Regions from separate parts of the Homo sapiens genome. Here regions 1 and 3 are each linked to region 2. The links are contacts of gene promoters, found by promoter capture Hi-C in blood cells and fetal thymus (Javierre and others, 2016). All regions are on one chromosome and are shown on one strand. Each heading gives the region's core, a stretch centred on a gene start or on the middle of the fragment in contact. The rest is flanking DNA. Distances are from core to core; before and after follow the strand shown. Region 1 holds the start of SPC24 (SPC24 component of NDC80 kinetochore complex). Region 2 holds the start of S1PR5 (sphingosine-1-phosphate receptor 5). Region 3 holds the start of OLFM2 (olfactomedin 2).

Evidence for each region. The method cuts DNA at HindIII sites, captures the fragments that hold promoters and counts their contacts. A CHiCAGO score of 5 or more calls a contact.
Region 1: a contact is called between the fragment with the promoter of SPC24 here and the fragment with the promoter of S1PR5 in region 2, in 1 of 17 cell types (neutrophils). The highest score is 7.0, in neutrophils.
Region 3: the fragment with the promoter of OLFM2 here is called in contact with the fragment with the promoter of S1PR5 in region 2 in 3 of 17 cell types (total B cells, fetal thymus and activated CD4 T cells); the score reaches 6.7 in total B cells.

Annotation. Positions count from the first base shown.
Region 1 is chr19:11,153,840-11,157,333 of GRCh38, forward strand. SPC24 (SPC24 component of NDC80 kinetochore complex) reads right to left here and starts at 1,943. Exons shown (of 5, transcript NM_182513.4): 1 at 1,778-1,943. The coding sequence starts at 1,937. RefSeq lists a silencer at 1,900-2,059. The HindIII fragment of the contact is 19,008 bases long and covers 1-3,494 here.
Region 2 is chr19:10,515,514-10,519,137 of GRCh38, forward strand. S1PR5 (sphingosine-1-phosphate receptor 5) reads right to left here and starts at 1,934. Exons shown (of 2, transcript NM_030760.5): 1 at 1,885-1,934. RefSeq lists enhancers at 1-411, 3,279-3,624. The HindIII fragment of the contact is 9,669 bases long and covers 752-3,624 here.
Region 3 is chr19:9,934,467-9,937,817 of GRCh38, forward strand. OLFM2 (olfactomedin 2) reads right to left here and starts at 2,049. Exons shown (of 6, transcript NM_058164.4): 1 at 1,838-2,049. The coding sequence starts at 1,900. RefSeq lists enhancers at 1,305-1,899, 2,566-3,068. The HindIII fragment of the contact is 5,720 bases long and covers 1-3,351 here.

The DNA.
Region 1 (3,494 bases), core at 693-3,192, 640 kb after region 2:
TGTGGATCATGAGGTCAGGAGATCGAGACCATCCTGGCTAACACGGTGAAACCCCGTCTCTACTAAAAAAATATATATAAAAATATTAGCCGGGCGTGGTGGCGGGCACCTGTAGTCCCAGCTACTCGGGAGGCTGAGGCAGGAGAATGGCGTGAACCCAGGAGACGCAGCTTGCAGTGAGCCAAGATTGCGCCACTGCACTCCAGCCTGGGTGACAGAGCAAGACTCCGTCTCAAGGAAAAAAAAAATACAGTCTTGAAGAGATATTTGGGCACCCGTGTTCATAGCAGCGTTATTCAACACAGCCAAAAGGTGGATACAACCCAAGTGCCCATGGATGGATGAATGAATAAACACAATGCGGTCCATCCTTCTATATCATGAAATATGACTCAGCTTTAAAATGGACGGAAATTCTGGCCAGGCGTAGTGGCTCACCCCTGTCATCCCAGCACTTTGGGAGGCCGAGGTGGGCGATCACTTGAGGCTGGGAGTTTAAGACCAGCCTAGCCAACATGGTGAAACCCCATCTCTACTAAAAATACAAACATTAGCTGGGCATGGTGGCGCATAAGTGTGTTCTCAGCTACTTGGGAGGCTGAGGTGGGAGGATCACTTAAGTCTGGGAGGCAGAGGTTGCAGTGAGCCAAGATCACACCACTGCATTCAAGCCAGGGTAATGGAGCGAGGCTCTGTCTCACAGTAAGTACACAAAATGAAAGGAAATTCTGATACAGGCTATGACATGGATGAACCTGGAGGACATTATGCTCCATGAAATAAGCCAGACACAAAAGGGTAGATATTGTATGATTCCACTAGGAAGGGTAGATATTGTACAATTCCTCGTAAGGTTCCTAGAGGAGTCAAATTTGAGACAGAAAGTAGAACCCTGGTGGGTGCCAGGGTCTGAGAAGGGGATGGGGAGTGAGTGTTTCATGGGGACAGAGCTTCAGTTTGGAAAGATGAGAAAGTTCTGGAGATGGATGATGGTGCTGATGGTTGCACAGCAGTGTGAATGTGCTTAAGGCCACTGAACTGTGCAGTTACAGATAGTGAAGATGGGCCGGACACAGTGGCTCACGTCTGCAGTCCCAGTACTTTGGGAGGCTGAGGCAGGCAGATTACCTGAGGTCAGGAGTTTGAGACCAGCCTGGCCAACGTGGTGACCCCCCGTCTCTACCAAAAATACAAAAATTAGCCGAGTGCGGTGGCAAGCGCCTGTAATCCCAGCTACTCAGGAGGCTGAGGCAGGAGAATAGCTTGAACCCGGGAGGTGGAGGTTGCGGTGAGCCCAGGGCCTGGCAGCAGCAGATGCTCCATAAAACATCTGAATGCCTTCAGGAAGAAGGGATGGGCTATTGTCACAACCATTTGACAAGGAAGGAAGCTGAGGCACAGAGAATTTAAGAAACTCACCTCAAGTCTCACAGCGGACATGGGGATGGGTGCTAGGATTCAAACCCGGAGCTTTGACTCCTGAGCCCCAGTTCAAACCCTGAGACCCCCAGCTCCTGCTCACGGAGAGCTCAGAAGGGGCCAACCCCTCCAGACTCCTATATTTACCACTAAACCCCTGGGGGGTGGGGGATGGTTGCTGTCATAAAGCCGATTTCTCAGATGGTGAAACTAAGGCTCAGAGGGGGCCGTCCCAGGGGGCATAGGGCAGGAGATGGGAGAGTCCAGGAGAGAAGGGGTTTTGAGGTGGGCCTGGTCGCCCCCTCCCAGCACCCGGGCCCCTTCCCCCGTGGGCCCGCGACCACGCTCCGACCCTCACCTCGCAGCTGCTTCTCGGCACCGTCTTGCGTTTCCAGCAGCCGCTCCACCACCTGCTCGTGGCGCCCCAGCAGCCGTCGCTGCTGCGCCTCCGCGCGGTTGGCGCCCAGCAGGCTGAGCAGCCCCTGGCTCACCTCCTCTATGTCGCGGAAGGCGGCCATGACTACGCCAGGCTCCAACCCGCGCAAATTTGACTGTCCGCGGGGCCCGCCCTCTTCCAGAAGAGGTTGCTTTCCATTGGATTTTTTGATACGTCAGTCATAAGCAATGGCCAATAGGCATGGGGAACAGGATCTTAGACTGGGCTAAGCCGCCTTTGGTCTGGCCTGGTGCGCCTGCGACCACTCCTCCGTCAGTCATCGGTGATGACCAATCGGCGCAGGAAGGGGGAGGCTCCGTTATCCTTCCCGATGCGCCTGCGCGGGAGAGAAAGCGGCTGTTTATTTCTCCATAGGTCGAGCGCTTGCTCTGTGCAGGGTGGGGTTCTAACGGCAAAGCAGCGAGCAGCTTCTCCTGGAACTTACATCCTACAGTGTGTGCGTGGGATACACAATAAGCATAGAGAATAAGTAGATTCTATGAGAGGCTGCATAGCAAAATGGCGTCTGCAGCCAGATTTACTGGGTTCGAATCCCAGCGTTGCCACTTACTAGCTGTGTTACCCTGGACAGACTTCACCTCTCTGTGCGGTACTTTCCTCCTTAGTAAAATGAGGGTCATACTAGTGCCTGTGTCAGCGTTGGCGTGAGAATTCTTCTTATTACTTTTTTTTTAGAGACAAGGTATTGCTCTGTCACCCAGGCTGAAGTGCAGTGCCACAATCATAGCTCATTGCAACTTCGACCTCCTGGCCTCCAGCAATCCTCCTGCCTCCGCCTCCCAAAGTGCTGGGATTACAGGCGTGAGCCACCGAGCCCAGCCTGGCGTGATAGTGTCTCCTATTCAGTAGGTGCTATATAGTTGTTTAATGAAACATACATAGAATCCTAGCATGTAGCTGGGTGCAGTGGCTCACGCCTGTAAGTCTGAGCTCTTTGGAAGGCTAAGACAGGAGGATCGCTTGAGCCCTGGAGTTTGAGACTAGCCTGTCTCAAAACAAAACAAAACAAAGAAAAGATCAGTGCTGACTCTAAGGTGCTGGTTCCATGCTAGACACTGGTATTTCTGCAAGAAACAAGATGTTAAGATGGCATCTTTTTTTCTTTCTCTCTCTTTTTTTTTAAGACAGAGTCTCACTCTGTTGCCCAGGCTGGAGTGCAAGGCATTCCAGCCTGCTTCCTGGGTTCAAGGCATTCTCCTGCATCAGCCTCCCGAGTAGCTGGGATTACAGGTGCCCGCCACCGCACCCAGCTGATTTTTTGTATTTTTAGTAGAAACGGGGTTTCATTATGTTGGCCAGGTTGGTCTTGAACTCCTGACCTCGTGATCTGCCTGCCTCAGGCTCCCAAAGTGCTGGGATTATAGGCGTGAGCCACCGCGCCTGGCGTGGCAACATTTTTATGTGTGCTACCACCTAAAGAACATCTCATTGCTTTCCTATGATTTTTTTTTCTTTTCTTTTCTTTTCTTTTTTTTTTTTCTTGAGACAGAGTTTCGCTGTTGTTGCCCAGGCTGGAGTGCAATGGCGCGATCTCAGCTCACTGCAACCACCACCTCCCAGGTTCAAGTGATTCTCCTGCCTCAGCCTCCCGAGTAGCTGGGATTACAGGCATGCGTCA
Region 2 (3,624 bases), core at 684-3,183:
GAGGCAGAAGAATCATTTGAACCCAGGAGGCGGAGGTTGCAGTGAGCCGAGATCGCATCACTGCACTCCAACCTAGGTGGCAGAGCGAGACTCTGTCTCAAAACACCCCCCCTCCCCACCAAACACACACACGGCTGGGTGTGGTGGCTCACTCCTGTAATTCCAGCACTTTGGGAGGCTGAGGCGGGAGGATTGTTTGAGGCCCAGGAGTTCGAGATTAGCCTGGACAACATAGGAGAACCCCGTTTCTACAAAAATTAGCCGGGACGTGTTGGTGTATGCCTATAGTCCAAGCTACTCAGTGGAGTCCCAGCTGAGGTGAGAGGATCACTTGAGCCCGCGGGGTCAAGGCTGCAGTCAGTGAGCATTGATTGTGCCACTGTACTCCAGCCAGGACAACAGAGCAAGACTTTGTCTCAAACACACACACACAAACACACAAGCAGGGAGTTCCAGAGACGTAACAGTAAACACACAGAACGCACACAAACGCAACACACACAGAAAGAGACACACAAATACAGCGACACACTACAAGGGCAAAACACACAGTCACACACTATCAGGGAAACTAAAAAATACATCATACAGGAACAGAGTGACGCAGGCAGAAAAACACAGCGACCAAAATTCAGTCACACGAATACAGGGTCTCCCACCCAGTGGCACAGGCCACAATTTCACAACCTCCACTCACACTAGCCTGGGGCCCAGTGCACCACACTCCACACTCTTGTCTCACTGCATACAAAGCTTTTTCCTGCCAAAACCCCCTCATCCACCCAAAACCCCATGAGAAAGTTGCTCCTTGGCCAGGCACAGTGGCTTTCGCCTGTAATCCCAGCACTTTGGGAGGCCGAGGTGGGAGTATCACTTGAGCCCAGGAGTTCGACACCAGCTTGGGCAACATACTAAGACTTCATCTCTACAAAAAAATTTAAAAATTAGCCAGGTGTGGTGTTATGCCCCTATAGTCCCAGCTACTCAAGAGACTGAGGCGGGAGGATCACTTGAGCCTGGGAGGCCGAGGCTGCAGTGAGCCATGATCGCACCCCTGCTCTCCAGCCTGGGTGACAAGAGAGAAACTCCGTCTCAAAAAAAAAAAAAAAAAAAAAAGTTGATCCTATTCACTCATTTTACTAAGGCAGAGCCTGAGGACAGGAGAGAGAATCCACAAGAGGCAAACAGACTCTTACAGAGGGGCACACATGTCATTAAACTGTAATAACACTCCTCACCTGCCTCTGTGACCTTATTAATCCCCACTTCCTTTAGTCCTAATTTACAGATGAGAAAACTGAAGCTCAAAAGAAATGCTTCGTATCGAAGCAGGCGCAAAGGTTTCCATGCTCCCACACAAACATCCATGCACAAATAGTCCCCATGCAAGTCCAGATGAGAAAGCCAAGGCCTGGGGAGGGGAATGGATCTCTTTTGCACAAGGCAGGGATGCGGACATCCCAGAGAGCTTCAGTCACACACAGAGAATCAAGGCAGGCAAACATAGACAGGAAGTCGCTGGCTCACCCATGCTGGAGGTGGGGAGCCCAAATACAGGGAGACAGGGTTACACATGCTCTGAGGGGGAGGCCAACCCCATCCGCCCAGCTTGCCCGGCAGCAGGACTGAAGTATGGAAACTTGCAGTGGCCCGGCCAGGAGGGGGTGGCCAGGGGATTCCAGCCACCTTCACCCCGTATCCCAGGTCCTGCACCCAGCTGGGGAGCCCCCAGCTTCCCCCTCCCCAGAGGCCTCCAGGAAAAGTTCGGAGAACTCCCTGCAAGGAGTGGTGCGCCTTTTTAGACCGGGAAAGTGGCCGCCAGGGCGACCCCCTCCGGGTCAGGCCCAGCCCAGCGCCCCCAAAGGTCCAGTGCAGTCCACTCACTCTGCGCCCTGGTCGTGCGCCACCCGCAGTCGCGCTGCCTTGAACCGAGTGAGCGGACGCCGCTCCGGGGGCGGGGCTGGAGCTGGCAGGCGAGGGGGCGGGCCAGCGACGCAAAGGGCCGGCGGTCGCCAGCAGTTGCCCCCTCCCCTTGGGTCCCGGGCACTCAGCCCATGGCTGCCAGCCTGTGCCACTCGCCGCGGCACCGGAGCGCGCCCCGGCGGCGACTGGCACAGGCGAGCCCTCAGCTGCCCCCTCCGGGCCTGGGCTGTCCTCCCAGGGACGCTCCATCGCGGTGGGAGGACTCGGAGAGGCGGGAAAGGGAGGGTTCTGCAGCAGGGCGGTCGCAGCCTGAGCCTCTTCTCCCCAGCGGAGGGGTCTCCTCTGTCCTGGGTGTCCGGGCACTGCGCCCTCCCATTGCCCACCCACCTGTGAACTGAGCTTCCTGGGCTGCACCCCAAGGACGCCCCGTCGATGATTCGGAGGGGTCTTCAGTGGGTTGCTTAGCAGGAGTCTTCAGTGGGGGCCACCTTAGCCTGAGTCCTCTCCCACCAGCAGATAGGTTCCCGCTGCTCCCGGGCACAGGCCCCTCCCAATTTCCCGCTCCCGCCCCCGGCTCAGGGCGAGTGGGGGTGGGGCGGGCCCGGGCAGGATTGTGATGGGAACTTGCCGCTCCTCAGATAAGGAGGGTCTCTCCTGTCCCACCCCCTGGATTCCGTGTTCCCCCGACCGATTCTCTCCCACCCTTATCGCTGACGACAAAGTGATTTACTCATTAATGGTGTTTCTGGGCTGTGTCCTTAGCAGACAGTAAACCCCAGCAATGTAAGAATTTCTTTTTTTTTTTTTTTTTTGAGACAAGATCTTGCTCTGTGGCCCAGAGTGGAGTGCAGTGGCAACATCATAAGTCACTGCAGTCTCGACCTCCGCGGCTCAAGCCATCCTCCCATCTCAGCCGGCTGAACGTAGCTGCTGGGACTCCAGTCGCTTGCAACCATGCCCAGATAATGAATGAGTGTCTCCCTCACTTCCTCTGTATCTCTCTCAGGAGGATCTCAGAGTCTCTCGCCTGCGTGTCTCTTTGTCTCTGCGTGTCTCTTTGCCTCTGCGTGTCTCTTTGTTGCTGTCTGTGATGCTCTCCCACGCCTCTCCCAGGCCACTGCTCCTCCAACGACCAGTCCCGCTGGCCCCGAAACGCCCCCACCCCGACTTCCCAGGAACTTCCAGACGGTCCCAGCTCTTCCACCCTCAGATTCAGGAAGGGAGGCTGGGTCCCGCTGCTGCGACCTTCTCCAGGACCGTGCCCTTTGCCCCTGATGCTTCAGGCCCTGCTGGCCGCGGGTGGGGTGAGGGCGCCCCAGGAGAGATGAGCCAGAGGCTGAGAATAAGTGTGGATCCGGGATACCCTCGTGGGAGGAAACTCAGGGGGCACTCAGGCCGGGTCAGGCCCCCATGTAGCCCCTTGGGGATCCCAGCCCTCCTGCCCCCGCTGTTCCCTCGGTGGGCAGAACCTTTCCTGCCTGCTCTGCTCAAAGACACAGCCAATGGGACCCGCAGGGTGGGACGGTGTTAACCCTTCAGTGCCAGGTTCCCCAGTCCTGTGGACCAAGCCAACTCCAATGGTGCCCACTGGGATGACCCCTGAAGATCTCCCAGCATGGCTGTGGCTGGCACCCAGTAGGTGCTCAATAAATGACCTCCTTCTGTAAAGGGGAAGCCGCGCCCCAGGGTGGGGAGGTGGCT
Region 3 (3,351 bases), core at 799-3,298, 580 kb before region 2:
CTAGCCAATCTTGGTGAGAAGCCAGAAAATCTAGTGCCCCCCTAGCAGGGAGTGGAGGAGAAGCCACAGGGGGTGGTTCTCTGTCTCCTCTGCTAGGTCAAGGATAATTCAACTTGATTCCTGGCTCATTTTTTTTCCACTGGTTTCTCAAGTGTGTGCCTCTTTTGGTCTCTCGTCTCCCAGGTGTGTCTCTTGGCTTCTCTCAGGCTCACACATCCATTGAGTACCTATTGTGTGTGTCCTCATGCCTGGGGCTGGGCACACTCCCTATCCCACCCAGCGCGTGGGTGCTGAGATGCGTGGGGAAATGGAGGAGCGAGGGAGGGGACCCCACAATCTCTCCTCGTGGCCTGGAAATCCTTCTATCTGGAGTCTAACCTCCATTCCTCCCAACACCCCCCTCGGGGTGAGCACAAGGGTCTGATTCTTTTCTTGATAAGGGGAAGGTGCCCAAATTGTTTCTCCCCTGCCTATCTACCTAAAAGCCCACCTAGCAATGTCTTCACGGACGCTGTCCACACCCATGGAGCGGATTATTTAACAAGAGGGTAATCGTGTGGGCTCAGGAGCCGGACTGCCTCGGTTCAGTCCCACCTCTGTCACTCTCGAGCTTGAGCAAGTGATTTAACTTTTCTGCGCCTCAGTTTCCCCATCCATAAAATGAGGTAACAATACCATGCTCTAGTAGGGAGGAGGCAGAGGGGGTTAAATGCCTTAGTCTGTGCTGTGTGATTGAAACAGCACCTCTCAAATTAGCACGTAATGAATGATCACTGTTATCATAATGACTATTTTATTATTTTTGATCCCAGCTTCCCTGTGAACTCCTACAGATCTGAGAACTTGGGGGTGCTCTCACTCCCAAGATGGAGGAGGAGAGGGGCTTTCCAATAGCAAAAGAGAGCGTGGACGCCCCACATTTTGCAAGCCTCCCTGAGCCTGCCCAAGAGAAAGGTGCCATGGGGAGGGAGACCCGCTTCTGTAAGGGTATGAATGGCGTGTGCGGTTGTGAGCAAGGCACCAAGATACACACACACACGTGCATGGATGGACACGTTTGCACACACAGCGCTTGCACACACACACACCCTTTTAGAGTGATTTACCCAAAGGTACAGAATAGCACACGCTCACTCCAAGGCTCTCACACGGCCACACACCTGGCCACACACGTATTGTACAACACCCAGTCATCTGGAGCCAGTAATGAGGACACGGTCACACACAGACTCTGTCTCACGTACTGATCACACCCCAACTCGGGCACTAGTTGGACAAGCCCCCCAACCGCCACACACACAAACTCCCCCCGGTCACACCCAACCACGACACAAAGACACACACGTTTACCCTGCACCCCCACAGCATTTCACACGCGTCCCCGTCAGTCACTCTCACGTGAGTCCCGTCCCCTGCCCCACACTGGGGGCTGCAGGCGAGGAGTGGAGGGCTTCAGAAACTGGGCATCTCGGCCCCGAAGAGGAAGTCAAGGGTAAGCAACCGCCCCCCTCCAATGCCCCCTGAAGTTTCCCTCCCAACCCCATTCAGCTCCAGCGAGATGGCGGGGTGGGGGCTCGGGGCCATGGAGGGGTTGAGAACCCCAAAGACGCCACCCCCCAAACCAGCCCAGCTTGAGGCTGGATTTGAAGCCCCCCTCGTCCTCTCCCAAGCCAGAGAGTGCACGTCCCGGCCCCTCCCCCGCTGCGACCCCCGCCCCTCGCCGCCCTGCAGCTGGGGGGGCTTGTGGAGCCTCCCAACCCCGTTTCTCCGGGAACCCTCCGCGCCCCCCTCCTCTCCCGGAGCCACCCGCGCCCGCACCTGCCCGCCGGGCCCCTACCTGTCCGGCCAGGCCTGAGCACAGCAGCAGCAGCAGCGGCGGCGGGACCGTGAGCGGCCACATGACGCGCCCCTAGCCCGGCGTCCCGACCCCCGCCCGCCCTAGCGGCGCCTCGGCGCGGGGACCGCCACCAGGCGCGACCCCGCCCGCCCGGCCGGGGCGACCCTGCGCCGCCGCCTCCCCCGCCTCGCCGGCGGCCGGGATTCCGCCCCACCCCCGCCCCCTCGCTCGCTCCGAGTCTTTGTTGCGGGCTCCGCCCCCCGCCCCGCCCCCAGCTCCTCTTCGGGAGCAGCTCGAGCAGGGTCGGGTGGGGGGGTGGGGGCGGGGAAGTGGGGGAGCCAGCGCCGGCGAGGGGACCTGAGGACAGGACTTGGCAGCGCCCCCCAACCCCCAGGCCATTCCGGGAGCGGGTCGCGGAGGTGGGGGAGGGGTGCCCGTCACGTGTTTGTAAATTTCACCCTCCGGGGGCATTTCCCACGTTGCAGGTGGGACGGGGACGAATGGTTGGGGGAGAGGAATAGGAGGAAGGCCTGGTAGCAGAGAGGGGAAATGATGAACGCCCCCTCCCTAAAAACTCAAGAGTCAACAGGGAAACTGAGGCAGAATCTGAAATTGGAAGTTGGAGGAGGGGTCAATGCCAGGACAAGAGGGGTGAGGCATAGATGGAGACGGGGAATAAGAGGAAAAAATTGAGGTTGGGGGGACAGGAGACCGAGAATCAGGCAAGAGGCCAATGGAAATGGCCACGTGGGTGGGCTTGGCCTCAAAAAGGGGCGTCTCGTTTTCACTCTCCCCGGGCGCCCCATTTCCCCACCAGTCCTCCCGCTGGAAGCCTCCCCGCCTCCGCCACACCTGGAAGAGTTTCTCTTCGCTCCCTGTTTCAATAGCCCAAGATGAAAGACCACATCCCCCGAGAGAATCAAAATATTAACACCGCCTCCACGCGAAGCCATTTGCATATGAAGGGCGTCCTTGTCTAGCCTCACTTTCGGGAGGCTTTCCAGCCTTTCTCTGCCTCTCACTCCTCCAAAAGTCTCCCTAGGCCGGGCGCGGTGGCTCACGCCTGTAATTCCAGCAATTTGGGAGGCTGAGGAGGGTGGATCATCTGAGGTCAGGAGTTCAAGACCAGCCTGGCCAACATGGCAAAACCCCACCTCTACTAAAACATACAAAAATTAGCCGGGCGTGGTGGTGCATGCCTGGAATCCCAGCTACTCGGGAGGCTGAGACAGGAGAATCGCTTGAACCCGGGAGGCAGAGGTTGCAGTGAGCAGAGATCGTGCCATTGCACTCCAGCCTGGGCAACAGGAGCAAACCTTGTCTCAAAAAAAAAAAAAAAAAAAAAGTGTCCCTAGTCGTCTTTCCTCCCCACAGCCCCTCTAGGGATTCGGATATATGTAGGCAGAGGTGGAGGAGGGGGGCGGGCAAATAAGTCAGATTGGAAAGAAATCGGGCATAAAATATGCGAGGCCAGGAAGCCTGGCATTTTTGTGACCCTGATACTGTTGGGCTAG